3 separate regions of the Homo sapiens genome follow, and all the other regions are linked to region 1. Evidence: promoter capture Hi-C in 16 types of primary human blood cells and fetal thymus (Javierre and others, 2016). All regions are on one chromosome and are shown on one strand. Each heading gives the region's core, a stretch centred on a gene start or on the middle of the fragment in contact. The rest is flanking DNA. Distances are from core to core; before and after follow the strand shown.

Region 1 (4,708 bases), core at 1,493-3,992:
CCAATCCAGCCACCTTCCTGAGACCCTGCTATGTACCAGACAGGATAGGGAGGAGAAAGAAGTGCAAATGTGCTGGAACAGTCCCCTCCCACCCCTCCAATGGTGCCTTTGCTCTCCCTGTGGCTGGTGTCTCTTCCTTCACTCCCAGTTGCAGACATCCCCAAAGCCACCCAGACCCCTTCTTCCCAGTCACTGCAGCCATTGGTTCATTATCCCTTGACCGCTGGATCCTCCACCCCAGCACATCTGGTACAGACTGACTTTCCTAAAGTGCTGCTCTGTTGTGTCACTCCTCTCCTCAGAAACCTTCAGTGGCTCCCACTTTCTGCAAATCAGATCCAAAGTTCTTATCCTGTCATTCAAGGCCCTCCGTAAGCTGATCCCACCTACTATTCCCACTGCATATCCCCACACGTTCCCAAACTTCAGCCAGAATGAGCAACCTAGAGGTTTCTCGAGAATTCTCAGGACAGGTTGACCTCCCTGCCTCTGCCTAGGCATTTTCCTCTCCTCAAGACACTATCTTCATTCTGGCTGCCGAAATCTTCCCAGTCTGTAAGGCCCTGAAGATCCCTCTAATCCTTTTTTCATTTATCTTCCATCAGAGTCCCTGGTATTCTTGTGTAAGCCCCTTCCCGGATGGTAAGCAACCTGAGGGTGCAGGCCTTATGTGGTCGCTTGTCATTCATCGAGCAGGAAGTGGGGGTGGTGGTGGGGAGGGCTTTCCATTAAGGCTCACTAGGTAGGCTCTGTTGAAATGAACGTCTCCTCCTCCCCACCTCAGGCACCACCTACCAGACCCTCTCCCTCCCCACCATACCAAACTCCAATTTATGCCACTTCAGTGCTTGAAGAGACTGTGGTCCCATGTTGATCCAAGCCAAACCAGGACCAGGAGCCCAGAGAGAAAGTCCTATTCAAGTCTCACCCCCTCCAGGAAGCCTCCTTACCCCCACCCCCTGCCCTGGCTTCTCAAGTGTCTCACTCTTCTGAACACCTCCCCCTGCCCTACATACACACACAGTCTCCTGCACACAGCGCAGCCGCCAGTCCGTCTCTGTCCCACAGCACTTTCCAGTTTGTTCCATACTGTACAGCTTATCTCCCAGAAGATGCAGGGAGCCAATATAATGCAGCACCTTCAGCGTCCTTCAGTGTCCAACCCTGCTTAGATATCGGGTGCCCACATTGCCCCTCGCCCCCATCCCAAGCCAAGTGTGCAATGGTATAGCTGGATTCCAGCCACCAGGGCAGAACAGACCCATGAAATCTCATCTGGTTATAAGCCCTGGGTGTGACTGATCCTCTCTACAGGGACATGGTAGGGATGGGGGAGCCCTCATTGTCAGCAACTCAGGCCTGGCTAGTTCACCTCTGTATCCTCTAGCTCTCTCTAGCATATAGTAGGTGCTCAGTAAACATTTTTAGACTTATTTAACTCAACACTTACCAACCTCAAGCAACATTACAGAAAACTCAGCCACTCTTTGTTCCAGATGACACAGTCCTCATCCCTCAAATAGAGTGATGTTGGTGGCAGGTGGCAATTTCTGGCTTTCACAAGGTCAGGAGGGGCTGTAGCCAACCCCATCTCTCCAAGAAAAAAAAAAGGCTCATTCCCCATAGGAAGCAAGCCCATCACCTGCCCACCCGCATCAAAGCAGCTGTCACAGAGGGAGGTCTCACTGGTTTCCTGGCACCTTGCTAAGTAGTGTATACACATTATTCTATTTAGTGCTTGCTCCTGCTATTGGATATTGTCATTATCCCCATTTTACAGGTGAGGAAACTGAAGTTTGGAGGGGGAATGGAATCCAAATCAGTTTGATCCCAAAGCCCAAGCCTTGACCACAGAACTATGCTGCCCCGCTACTGGGGCCCAGCACAGAGCACCCACCACCTCCAGGAACAGAACCCGTCAGCCAAGAAATTAACCCCGGGTATGCTTCAAGGGCCCCTGGGGCCCTGGGCTTGACCCTGGGCCCAAGGATTGGTGGGGTTTTCCCTTCTCTTCCCCACTCACCAGTGTAAGAACTGTTCCCCAGTTTCCAACCTCCTGCTCAGGCCAGCTCACCTGGAAAAGCCCCACTGAGTTTCCAACTTGAAGTCTTAGGGGGTCCGGCTCAGTTGAACTGTTAGAATTGGTGGGAAGCAGGTGAGGCGGGAAATGGAACCTCCCTGCTTTGGCCTCCTCTTCCCCAGGGTTGGTGGGTTCGAGCCCCAACCGAGGAAACAGTGCACTCTTTAAAGCAATTCGCTTCTCTCAGTCCCATTTTGCAGGGAGAGAAACTGCAGAGGGCAACGCGATGGGAACACCTGTGGCGACCTGCAGCCTGCTCTCACCTGCCAGCTCTCACCTTCCGGCGTTTTAAGTGAGAAAGGGCAACGGGAGCGTGGAATTCACCTGGTTCACTTCCTCCTGCTGGAACCCGGGAGGTCCAGAGCCAGGTAGAGGGACGGACCCAGGATCACGCAGCTGTGCACGGCCGAGTGTGAGAACTGGGGGTTCAGGACTGGTGGCTAAAGCTCCTTTTCACCCACCAGCTGCCCCGACCTGTCACTAGTTCCGAGGAAAGTTGTCCGAGCCGGACCGCAGAAGCGGGGGCTAAAACTAACTTTGCCTATGGTTGTCCGGCAGGCTACCCCGGCCCGCTGCCCCCTTGCTCACCTGCGGGTTCTGCTTTCTGCTCCGCGCTGCAGGCCCAGCGTCACCCGCTCGTGCCTCAGTCGGCGTCGGACTGCACAGCCCGGGGCTCAGTCACTCCTCGGCCCCCTCCCGGCTGCAGCCGGGGAACGCCGCGGACTCGGCAGGCCCCGCCCCCAGAAGACACGCCCCCTCCGCCGGCCCCGCCCCCGAGCCCTTTGGGAAGGCGGTGCGCTCCCGCCGGCCAGGCCCCGCCCACTATGGCCGTACCCCAACCAGCCTCGCCCCCGGGCCCAGCTGGAGCTGAGGCCCCGCCCCGCTACGGAGTCTCTCCTCTATCCCGGCAGCCCCGCCCCCAGGTTACACTGGGGATTAAGCCCGCCCCGCTCCAGCCCTGTCCACTCACGGCGCTGCCTAACGGTCCCGCCCAGCTCCCGCCTACCTCGTCCTCCCGGTCTCCTCCCGGGCCCTCCCAGCGCCCCCGCCTCCTTCACTTTCTCCTTCGAGCCCACCCCATCCCCCGGCCCTAGTAGGGTGAGGCCACGCCCCTCCCCGCACCAGCCTGGGCTCAGCGCCTTCCTAATCCTGCCCTGCCCTGCCCCTCTCATCTCGGGCGGGTAGCCCTGGGGCCCCCACGCTGGCATTCCAGGGCGGGTGTATCCGGGTGCCGCCGGGGAACGGCGTGGGAGCGGTTTGTGTCCTAAGTCGGGGCCTCTATCAGGAGGCGGCCTGGGCCCAGGAACTTTTTGAAAATACTGACTACCATTGATTGAATCCTTGCCAGGGGCCAGGCTCTATGCCAAGCGCTGAATACAGTTCTAGCCCTTGAATTCCCACAACTCATGGGTACTCTCGTTGCGCCTATTTTACTAATGCGCAGTTTAAGGCTCAGAGAAGGGAAGTCGAGGGCTCTGAATCTCATGGAGGCGGGCGTGAGCGGGATCCAGCCTCAGGTCCTGAGTCACAGGCTTGAGCTGCCCCAGCTTGCCTGGACTGGCCCCTGGGGAAGTAGCCCAGAACAACCAGTGCTGGGGCAGTGCCCAGCAGCTGCCTGAGGTGAGGGAGGAGGTGTGGGTTGATGAGAATAGTGGCAGGAGGGGCTGTGGGCCTAAGCCCTCAAAGCTGGCTTTCTCCCTGAAGAAAAAGTGGCCCAAAATTGAGGTGGGCTGCAAGAGCTCTCTAGGTGGCTGCGGTGCCCACCCTGCGTCCCAGCCCTCTGCCCTCCCAGGCTCCAGAGGACTAGCCTCAGGCAGATTACCTGGTTAATGACCAGGGGCATTCACCTGTGCAGCTGACAAAGCTCTTTCACTTCCATTATCACAATGTCCTCTCACAACACACCGTTGTGGGAGGGTATGATTATGAGCGCTTTGTACGAGTGGAGTAAGGGCGGGAGCTGGATCCCAGCCCAGCACTGTAGTTCTCACAGCGTGGTCCTTGAACCAGGAGCAACATCATCTGGGAACTTGTTAGGAGTGCGTATTTTGAAGCCCCATCCCAACTTACTGAATGGAAAACTGTGGGACAATTGGTTTTAATAAGGCCTCCAGGTGATTCTGAATCACATTCAAGCATGAACCACTGTTGAGCAAACTGTAAAGAAGTCAGGGTGGTCTGAGAATCACACAGACCTAGGTAGCTTCCTGGTTGCGTTTTAAACCCAGGACAAGGCAAGATACTTAACCTCTGGGATGAGCCCTTAAACAGGGAATAATAATAAAATGAGCCATAACAATCATACCGATCTTGATGGTAGCTGTTGAAGATTACATGTGACAGCATTCATAAAGTATTTGGCCCACCGCTTGAATGCCGTACATGCTCAGAAAATGTTCTCTTTTCAGCAAAAAGTCTCCTTCATAGCATTCCCACACCAAGTCAGAAAAGTGAGGCTGGAGAATCCTTTAAACCCAGCAGTGTGTCATACCCGCAGAGAGACACCCTCTATCCTGCAAGTGGTTAAGATCCTAACAAGCTCCTAGATGATGTGGATGCTGGTCCGGGGACCACACTTTGAGAACCACTGTGCCATTCTGTCTTGGGCTGGGTTTCAGATCCCTACCC
Region 2 (4,818 bases), core at 1,624-4,123, 770 kb before region 1:
GCGAGACGTTGGTCGCCCCCTGGTGGCGCGTGTTGTCATTACAAGGCTATCAACGAGAGGCTGGAACTGGAAGGCGTGGCCGGCTTTCTCTCCCACGAGGGCATCTCCCAGCCCTTCCCTCACTTCGGTGTTTGGGATTGAATATCCCTCTGAAGTTTGCATGATCACACTTTGCCGATCCATTTTCTCCTCCCAACAGCAGTAATCAATTCCAGTTCGGGGGTGTCAGATCATTAAAACAGGCTGCACGTCATTTGCATGTTTCGGTTCCCATGGAGCTGCCAGTCTGATTCCCCTCCCCCTCAAATTTCTTGCTTTTTAATTTTTTTTCATGCTTTTAACATCTGGTCCTATTTTTTTTCTCTTTCCAATAAGTGAAAAGGATGTAAATCTAGAAACCCGTGGGCAGACGTATGCTCTTTTTCTTGTGAAGTGTTCACTCTTTAACTGTAATAGTGTGACAACAAGCGAAGGGAATCAGAGATACATGCTCTGCCTGGTCTCTCCTCTCCTGCCAGTTATTTTTGACGGCTTGGCATCTGATGTGGATCAATTTTTTTCCAACTCGCATATTCTGCCTCCCACAGGGCATGGGTGCACAGGAGGGACATAACCTGCCTGGTCCCTGGATATTAATAAAATGTATTATTGTTATGCATTGAGCACCTACTATGTGCCAGCACTTTGCTAAGTGCTTTCACATTTAGAGGCATTGAAAAGAAGACATGCTAGGTGGTTTTCTTTCCTGCCTGTATTCCCTTGCCATCCCTGGAATAGGTGATTGATAAGCCTGGCCTCTGACATCATATACCCTGGGTTCAAATCCTGTCTCTGCTGCCTATGAGCTATGTGACCTTCGGCCTCCCACCTCATCTTTTGGAATCTCAGTTTCCCTACCTGTAAAATGAGGATTTATAATAGCACTTATTTCCTAGGGCTGTTCTGAGGATTACGTGTGTTAATATTGGTAGGCCACTTTGAACAGCATGTGGCACATGGCAAGGACCCTGTAAGTGCAGATGTTAGTAAACAGTGTAATGGGTGAGCCTGTGCCGATTTGGCCAGAGATGAGTACTACTCCACCCCTCTGCTCCCTGCTCAACCTGCTGGGCACTGGAACATTCTAGTGAGAGAGGATGAGAGTAGGTGAATCTGCTAGCTGAAAAACACACACACACACGCATGTGAAGAGCACACACACAGCACACAGGAAGCACACACAGGGCTTTTATATAGGAAGTGCATTTGGGCTAATGTCTAAGTGTTGCCACTTCTGTAGAACTGGCTCAGTCATTCCAGACAGTATGCAGGGGTTTAAGCTTCCTCAGCCTCTCCTGCCTCTGCATCTCACCACCGCCTAATCAGCCCAGCAGCAGTCCCTTCAATCCTTCCCCTACAATGTATCCAGAATGGTCCACATCTCACCATCTTTACCCTCTAAGTTCGGGCTACCCTCATCACCCGTGTGGCCTCCTAGAGTTACCTTTTCCCTGCTCGCCCATGCTTTTTTGCCCTCTTATAATCAACCATTTTTCTATAATTAAAATGATTTTCTTAAAATGCAAATAACTTCTCTACTTCAATCTTCTAGGGTTTAACAAAACAATCCACAGCTTCCATGCATGCTAAAAGGGTGCTGCGAAATCTGGCCCAGTGACCCATTGAGGTCATCTTTGCTCACTCTCTTTTCACCATTCAATAAACCCGCTGGCCTTCTTTCTTATCTGTGACCAAGGCCAAGCTCATTTCTTTCTCGGGGCTCTTGCTCTTGCTGTTCCATTTGGAGGCATTGACCTGATCCCTCTCCGGGGGATTCTTCTTGGCACTTAGATTGGGGTTCAAATGTCTACCAGGCCTTCCTGGATATCTGACTCAATGCAGCACTACTGCAAGACCATTCTCTGGATGGCTGTGGACCGACCCAGTTCTCCCTCTTTTCTGTCATAGCTCCCAAGAATCGCTGTGTAATGTGCTGGAAATGCAACATCTGGAATAGGGCGGGACTGGTCTGAGCAGGCCAGGCTCTGCTTCAGTCACTATTAGAAACAAGGTGTCCTTCAATGCGTTGACCCAGCAAGTCCTGTACCCCGTGGTCTAAAACCCAGGGCTGGTTGCCTTCAGGGCTCCGCAGCTGTGGTGCAAGTGGGGCATGTGCAGACAAGACTCCATCTGGGCAGCTTTCCTGAGGCTTGGAGACTGATACTCATGAATTCTAGGCTGCTGCTGTCCCTTGCTGACTATCTATAAGTAATAACTTGTGTATTTCCTCATGTAACTTGTGTATTTCAGTGTTCTGTTTCACAGAACTTGGGCAAGTAGTGAACGTGCAACCCAAGATCAAGTGGGTTGAAGTGGTAACTAGCGCACAGTGAGTCTGTTTCATAACTACCCCTTCCCACTGCCCAGCGCTCTGTCACTTTACCCCTTTTTATACTCAATATAAAATTGATACTCAGCATTTTATACTCAATATAAAATACTTTGCTGGAATATTGAATATAAAGTATAGTTTATACTTAATACTCCAGCAAAGCATTCGCTCTATTGAAAATAAATAGGTGGCTGGGCACCACAGCTCACACCTGTAATACCAGCACTTTGGGAGGCCAAGGCTAAAGAATCACTTGAGGCTAGGAGTTTGAGACCAGCCTGGGCAACAGAACAAGACCCCATCTCTACACAATATAAAATAAAATAAGATAAAATAAAATAAAATAAAAGTTATCCAAGTGTGGTGGCACGTACCTACAGGTAGTCCTAGCTGATTGGGAGGCTGAGGGAGGAGGATGGCTTGAGCCCAGGAGTTCAAGGCTATGAGTGAACTATATGATGATGCCATTCCCTGTACTCCAGCCTGGGTGAAGGAGTGAGACCCTGTCTCAAAAAAAAAAAAAAAAAAAAAAAGAAAAGAAAGAAAAGAATTAGGCAATTGACGGCCGTCTGTAATCCCAGCACTTTGGGAGGCCAAGGCGGGCAGATCACGAGGTCAGGAGATCAAGACCATCCTGGCTAACACGGTGAAACCCTGTCTCTACTAAAAAAAATACAAAAAATTAGCCAGGCGTGTTGGCGGGCACCTGTAGTCCCAGCTACTCAGGAGGCTGAGGCAGGAGAATGGCATGAACCCGGGAGGCGGAGCTTGTAGTGAGCCGAGATAGCGCCACTGCACTACAGCCTGGGCGGCAGAGCGAGACTCTGTCTCAAAAAAAAAAAAAAAAAAAAGAAATTAGGCAATTGACTTTTGCATATGATTATCGCCCATCTCCCCAACTGGAAGGCAACTGTCTGTCTGTCCGTACAACCCAGAGAGTGTCTGCCCCCCCCCAGCAAGTGTTCCAACAATATTTGGTGAAGAAATTCTTGAATACATTTAGAAAAAGCCAGGACTTTGTTCTTGAGAAGAAAACATGTTTTTTAAGGTAAAAAAGGTAGTCTGGGGGACTGACAGCATAGATTTTATACCACACCATAGAGTAGGAAAGAATATTCAATAGTAAATGAATAAAGTTCCTACTCAAAAGGAGACAAAAGTTCAGTTTTGGGAGGTGGAAGGAGGATCGAAGGGTTGGAACTAGAACCCACAGATGCCAGGGACCTGTGAGAAAGCCTGGGATGCGGGTGGGTGGGAGACAGTGAAGCAGAGGAGACCTGCGCCTCTCTGCCCAGGAAAAGCTGTGGTGGACACTGTGCCACCACACTGTGCCAGGTGAGGACTCCTGTGATGGACCTGTTAATGAGAGGGCCTCAAACACTCACATCCCCAAATCCTCAAGGAGGGATAGAAATGGCAGAAAGCTGGTGGGTGAACCTGGAGAGGCCTAGCAATGGGACGCAGGGGGTGCAGACGCTTAGGTACCTGATGAGGGAAGACAGAGTGGCAGTGGCTGTGACAGCAGTGAATGCAGATGATATCAGACATCAATACACAGGCCTGGCAAATTACATCAACCTCGGATGCTCCGTAGGAGGGAACTAGATGAGGGGAAGGGGAGTGCCCCTCACACCACCAATGCCTGGAGAGGACAGAGGGGAAGGAGCCTTAATTGACAGAGCTTGAGAGCACCTGACAGTGACAGTTTACCTTGAGTTGGCAGGATTGAGTTTTGCACTCCCAGGGGAGAGTAATGTGCGCGTTCACTTCCTTTTGAAAGAAATTGATGAACTCTAACACCTATGCTTGCTAAATAAGAGCAGATGTACCATCTCTTTGTAGAGCATTCAAATAATACAGAATGGTAGCTAATATATAGTGAGGATTTGCCACGTGCCAGGAACTGATCTAATGCTTTATGTGTGGTTAAGGCCAAGGTCCTTGGTTGCAGGCAACAGAGTCCACATTAGCAAGTTCATGCTGACAGAGATCTATTAAAATGTATTTATTAAATACTTAATGGACTTTTTTGGGGGGACCACAGAATCAAGCTTAAATGGTACTCAGACCAGGACAGACCTGGACAACAGAGTCAGCCAAGCCCTTAAAATGCCCCCACTCTCTGCAGAGCTGTTCAGAGAGCCCTCTGCTGCTTCCACCTGTTAACTGACACTCATGATGTTTGGGACTGAAGTCAAAACTCCTCCCAATTTCCCAGAACACCCAGCACCCCTGCCTCTGTGCCTTCCAGCAGGTCCAGGCTCCCAGCCTTCTTGCACCACTCACTTCCACATGCAAGTCCTGAATGAGTGTAACTGGTTGGTGGAAAGCAGGCCATGTGCCTGCACTCTAGCTGCAAAGGAGTCTCAAATTTGGTTTTCAGTTTTGCAGTTTCTAGAGTGCAGGAAGGTAGTCTAGAAGGAATAGGAATGTGTGCCCAACTGAGT
Region 3 (4,460 bases), core at 1,330-3,829, 790 kb before region 1:
GAAAAAACAGACAGATGCCACCTTAATCAGTGATCAGATGTCATCGACAGCAATGTGTCTTATTAACAGCACCAATAATAAGACATATTGATATTATGTACTCCAGTATGATGCATGGAGAAACTTCAAAACCCCAGTCTAATCATGAGAAAATACTGGACAAATCCAAACTGAGTAACAATCTAAAAAATAACTGAGCAGTACTCTTAAAAAGTGTTAAGGTCACGAAAGACAAGGAAATAATGAGGAACCATCACAGATTGGAGAAGACATAAAAACTAAATGCTATGTAGGACCCTGAACTGGATCTGAATGAAGTTTGTAGTTCTTTTTTTTTTTTTTTTGTTAAACATCGAGGTAGCCTCAAAGGGGAAAAAGATTGACAAAAGATCCAACCAAAAGGTTCATGGAAGATGGAAAGCTAATCCTTCTGAATTTGGCTGAACAATTGGGGATGAGGAAGATTTATGAAAAGATTAAAGTCTAAGCTCCATTTTTTTCTTTTTCTTTTTTTAACCTGAGCACCAATAGTATTTTCTCTCTTATCCTTATCCCCTCAAATCCAACCTACAGTGAGAGAATAAATTTGAGCCACTTCATCGTAGTTTCAGTGGCATAATAAGCTCCTGTATTTTCATCAGTTATCAATATAAACATTAGATGGCATAAAATTAGATGGCTCTTTAGAAATAATGTGTCATGTAACTGCCAAACTGAGGTGTAATCCAAGGTTTAATATTTTCTAAAAAGTGGGCCTCTTACTTTTTAGAAGAAGTGCAGCCCACCTGCCCAATTTCAGTTAAGTTTCACTTTTAAAGTTGCACAGGAGCCCAAGTAAGCCTTCACTTTGTATCTGAGCAGAACGAGGGCCCAGGAAAGGAAAGTTGCTCATGCTCTGCCCATGTGGTGGTGAACAGAACCACTGCAGGATACCACACTACTTTCTCCCAGCTGCTATGATTTACTGCAGCCTTATTGTCCTGACCAAGAATGAGACCAGTTTACAAGTATTATGCAGTCACAGACACATGGGCCCTACCTAGACCTCTGAATCAGACTCCTTAATGCTGAAGCCTAAACATCTCTACCAAGAAAAGTGTTCTCTAAGACTCAAGTACAGAGCATGTGCTGAGACAAGATTCTTCAAGCTGGTATGTGTGTATGTGCGGGCACACGCATGCTTGTACAAGTCTTAAGATGTCTAGGACATATCTGTAGAGTTGTTCTATATCATTTCCATGTTCCTTCCCAGACCCTCTGCCCTCCATCCCAAATGCTTTTCTTGCCCCTCTCCACTGTGTCTTTGCCCACATCTTGTGCTTCAGGCTCCACTCTATGTAGCATTTGACCCCCTGGCCTTTACCAGCCTTCCTGTTTCAATGTACCTGAGATGAGATGGCAGCAGCTTTGGGGAAGCAGAATCCATTCGTACATTCATTCATTCATTCATTCATATGTCACAGACTATTTGAAGTTCTGGGGATACAGTCATACAATATAGACAAGATGTTTATTTTCAGGGAGCTTACATATTAATGGGAGGAGACAGTCAATAAACAAAGGAAGATACAAGAAAATAGCAGTAATGATGAGTGTTGTGGTGAAACTGAATCAGGATGACGTGACAGAGAGTAACAAGGGGGTACATGAGTTTGGGTGGTCAAGGGAGGACTTATTTGAAGAGGTCACATTGAAATTCAGCTCTAAACAAGAGAGGGCCAGCTCTGCAATAACTGGGTGAAGAGGGTTCCAGCAAAGGGAACAGCTAGTGCAAGGACCCTAAGGCAGGATAAAACTTGGCAGGTTGAAGAAAGAAAGATAGTATGTCTGGATTATAGTGAGTGAAGGGGTAGGGAGTGGTACCAGATTGAGTCCAGATCACATAGGGCACAGTAATTAGTGGGGGAAGACAATAATTCTAAACACAAAAGTGATAGAATCTAACTTACATTTTAAACAAATATTTTGGCTGCTACTGTGTGGTGAATGGACTGGGATGGTGAAAATGGGTCAGAAGATTAGAAGCAGGGAAGTTAAATGAAAAGGATCTTGCAGTTAACCAGGTAAAGGATGATGATGCCTGGGTTAGGGTGGTGGAGATAAGAACAGTGAATGGATTTAGGATATATTTTAGAATAAAAGCGGATCGAATTTGTTGATGGGTGAGCTGTGGGGAATGAAAGAGGGAATCAAGATTGTTCCCAGGTTTTTGCTTTGAGTGCACTAATGATGGCACCATTAGTTGACATAAGGAGCCCTGGGAGAGGAAGAGATTGGGGGCAGGAAAGGAAGAGTTTGACTTAGACATGTTAATTTGAGATATTTATTAATGAACCCACTGAAGCCCCCATCTCATACTTTATATCTATCACTATACCAAGAACTATGAGATCCAAGACCTTGCCTTCCTTTTCAATTCCTTGTTAAGCAGGAATAAAGTGAAAAATTACTGAATAAAATATTCAGTTTTTTTGCAAAACACTCTTACGTTCAGAGGTTTGGTAGCAGAGCCATATCTTCCCAGGCAGGCATAAGTAGCCAATCAATCTCCATGTCATACCAAGCAACGGTCCAAGGGGCAAACTAATTAAAAATTTAATCCCATGATTTTCATCTTAATCTCTTTTTCCCATTAGCTTTGATCAATGCCTACAACTACAATTTAACCAAACTTTTCATTTAGATAAATGACTCAGTGGGGTACCTATTTAGTCCGTTTGTTATGAACCAATGGATAACTAAAATGTATATGCTAATTACTAAAGACCACACACTAATTTTCAAAGCATTTTATTAGCACAAAAGCTGTGTTCCTGTTATCAAATGAAATGCGCTTCCTATGTTACACTCAGTAGTTGTTCAAACCAGTTTCTCTTGACTTCAGTAGCCAAATTGCAGCATGCTGTGTAGGTACACAGTGCACTTGAGAAATGTCTGCACATCCCAACCCTGCACTATATCACAAGCAGTAGTGAAAGGTGTAGCAAATAAGAAGATTCCATGAACTTCTCAGCTACCTGAGACTTCTGCTGCACCCTGAAAAAAAAAATCAGGCTAGAAACCACATAAAACAACTAAACCAAACTGAATGCAGGGGCTGCTATGAGGAAGAATGAACTTTGCAGCCTGTTCCAAATGCTAAGGTGAAGGAGGTCCTTCCTGGCTCTGCTCACTAGGTGTGCAAGTCAGGAGATATTCATTTCGTGATCATCCTTTCCTATCACCTGTGGTGAAATTTCTACTGCTTTCAAGTCTTCCAGCCCCTATTTGAATGCCAAAATTCTTAAGTTCCTTCAAGTAAAAGAGATCTTCATTTTAAAAATAAAAGTCAATGGCTCTGGTCTCCTGTAGCCTTTTCAGCCCCTGTAACAGTGCTTTCTCACTTAGATTTTCACTGTCACTTCAATAAAGGGGTGAGAAGAGAGAACTGGCCTGCGATCAATGAAAACTATTCAGTAAAAACTCTTCATGCCAGACATGGCCCCAGAAACAGGAGGAAAGTTTACCAGACAGCAGGAGTGGGTGGTGGCTGGGTCCAGTGGAATGGGTAAACCTAAAAGGGGACGAAAATGGTTTTCAGGCTGCTGTGGCCCTCTCTACACACAAATTTTGTGGCCATGAAGTCCTGGCTACTAAGCATCATTGTCTTTGCGCAACCGCTGCACCTGCCACTTCCCTCAACCCATTAATAATCGGGTTCCTGGGAGGATTTTCATCCCCAATTTACTGGACATGCCTCCGAGCCACCTCCCCGCTCCGGCCCTCCCTCTCGTTGGTCGCCTTCAGACTCCCCCACACGCGGGACGGCCCCTCCCCCCACCCTCCTCACCGGCTAGCCGCGGCCAGCAGAGCCTTCGAGCGGCTCTGTCAGGCTGCCCTGGAGCGTAAGGAAGAAGAAGGCGCGAAGGAAGAAGACTTCCTCATATTCTTGGCTTCCAAGGGGCGCTAGGGCAACAGAGGGGGAAATGACGTAGCTTCCATCCCGGAAGCGAAAATTGGGCGCGGGTCCAGGAAGCCGCCATGTTGTGTGTGGCGGATGAGAATTTCAGCGCTCAGCATCTGGGTACCAGCAGAGAGGCCCCACAGAGAGGCTAGACTAACCGTCTCCGCCTCCTCTCCTTTCTCTGCTCCTCCCCTCCTCCCATCCCCCCTCCCTCTCCTTTCTCAGTGTACTAAATGAGTGCTTCAGAGCCCAGTGAATAGATGGACAAACATTTAAATTTCCTAGCCGGAAACACTGAAAAGATGAACTGTCAAGAGGCGTTTGAACCAGAGGGACTCCATCTTGAATAGGGGCTGCATAAAAGAAGGTGGAGACCTGCTGGGATGCATTCCCAGGAGGTTAGGCATTCTAAGTCACAGGATGAGACAGGGAGGTCAGCACAAGATACAGGTCACAAAGACCCTGCTGGTAAAACAGGATACTTAAAGAAGCCGGCCAAAATCCACCAAAACCAAGA

The links. The method cuts DNA at HindIII sites, captures the fragments that hold promoters and counts their contacts. A CHiCAGO score of 5 or more calls a contact.
Region 2: a contact is called between a fragment that was not itself captured here and the fragment with the promoter of CD82 in region 1, in 1 of 17 cell types (total B cells). The highest score is 6.9, in total B cells.
Region 3: a contact is called between a fragment that was not itself captured here and the fragment with the promoter of CD82 in region 1, in 3 of 17 cell types (total CD4 T cells, naive CD8 T cells and non-activated CD4 T cells). The highest score is 5.6, in total CD4 T cells.

What each region holds. Positions count from the first base shown.
Region 1 is chr11:44,563,697-44,568,404 of GRCh38, reverse strand. CD82 (CD82 molecule) reads right to left here and starts at 2,742. Exons shown (of 10, transcript NM_002231.4): 1 at 2,669-2,742. RefSeq lists enhancers at 1,654-1,723, 2,229-2,729 and a silencer at 2,644-3,243. The HindIII fragment of the contact is 9,090 bases long and covers 1-4,708 here.
Region 2 is chr11:45,335,409-45,340,226 of GRCh38, reverse strand. No RefSeq gene overlaps it. Among named protein-coding and RNA genes, the nearest start is that of LINC02696, 18 kb to the left of the region's middle. RefSeq lists an enhancer at 1-169. The HindIII fragment of the contact is 3,103 bases long and covers 1,322-4,424 here.
Region 3 is chr11:45,354,972-45,359,431 of GRCh38, reverse strand. LINC02696 (long intergenic non-protein coding RNA 2696) reads right to left here and starts at 4,061. Exons shown (of 2, transcript NR_120558.1): 1 at 3,830-4,061; 2 at 2,775-3,036. The HindIII fragment of the contact is 6,359 bases long and covers 1-4,460 here.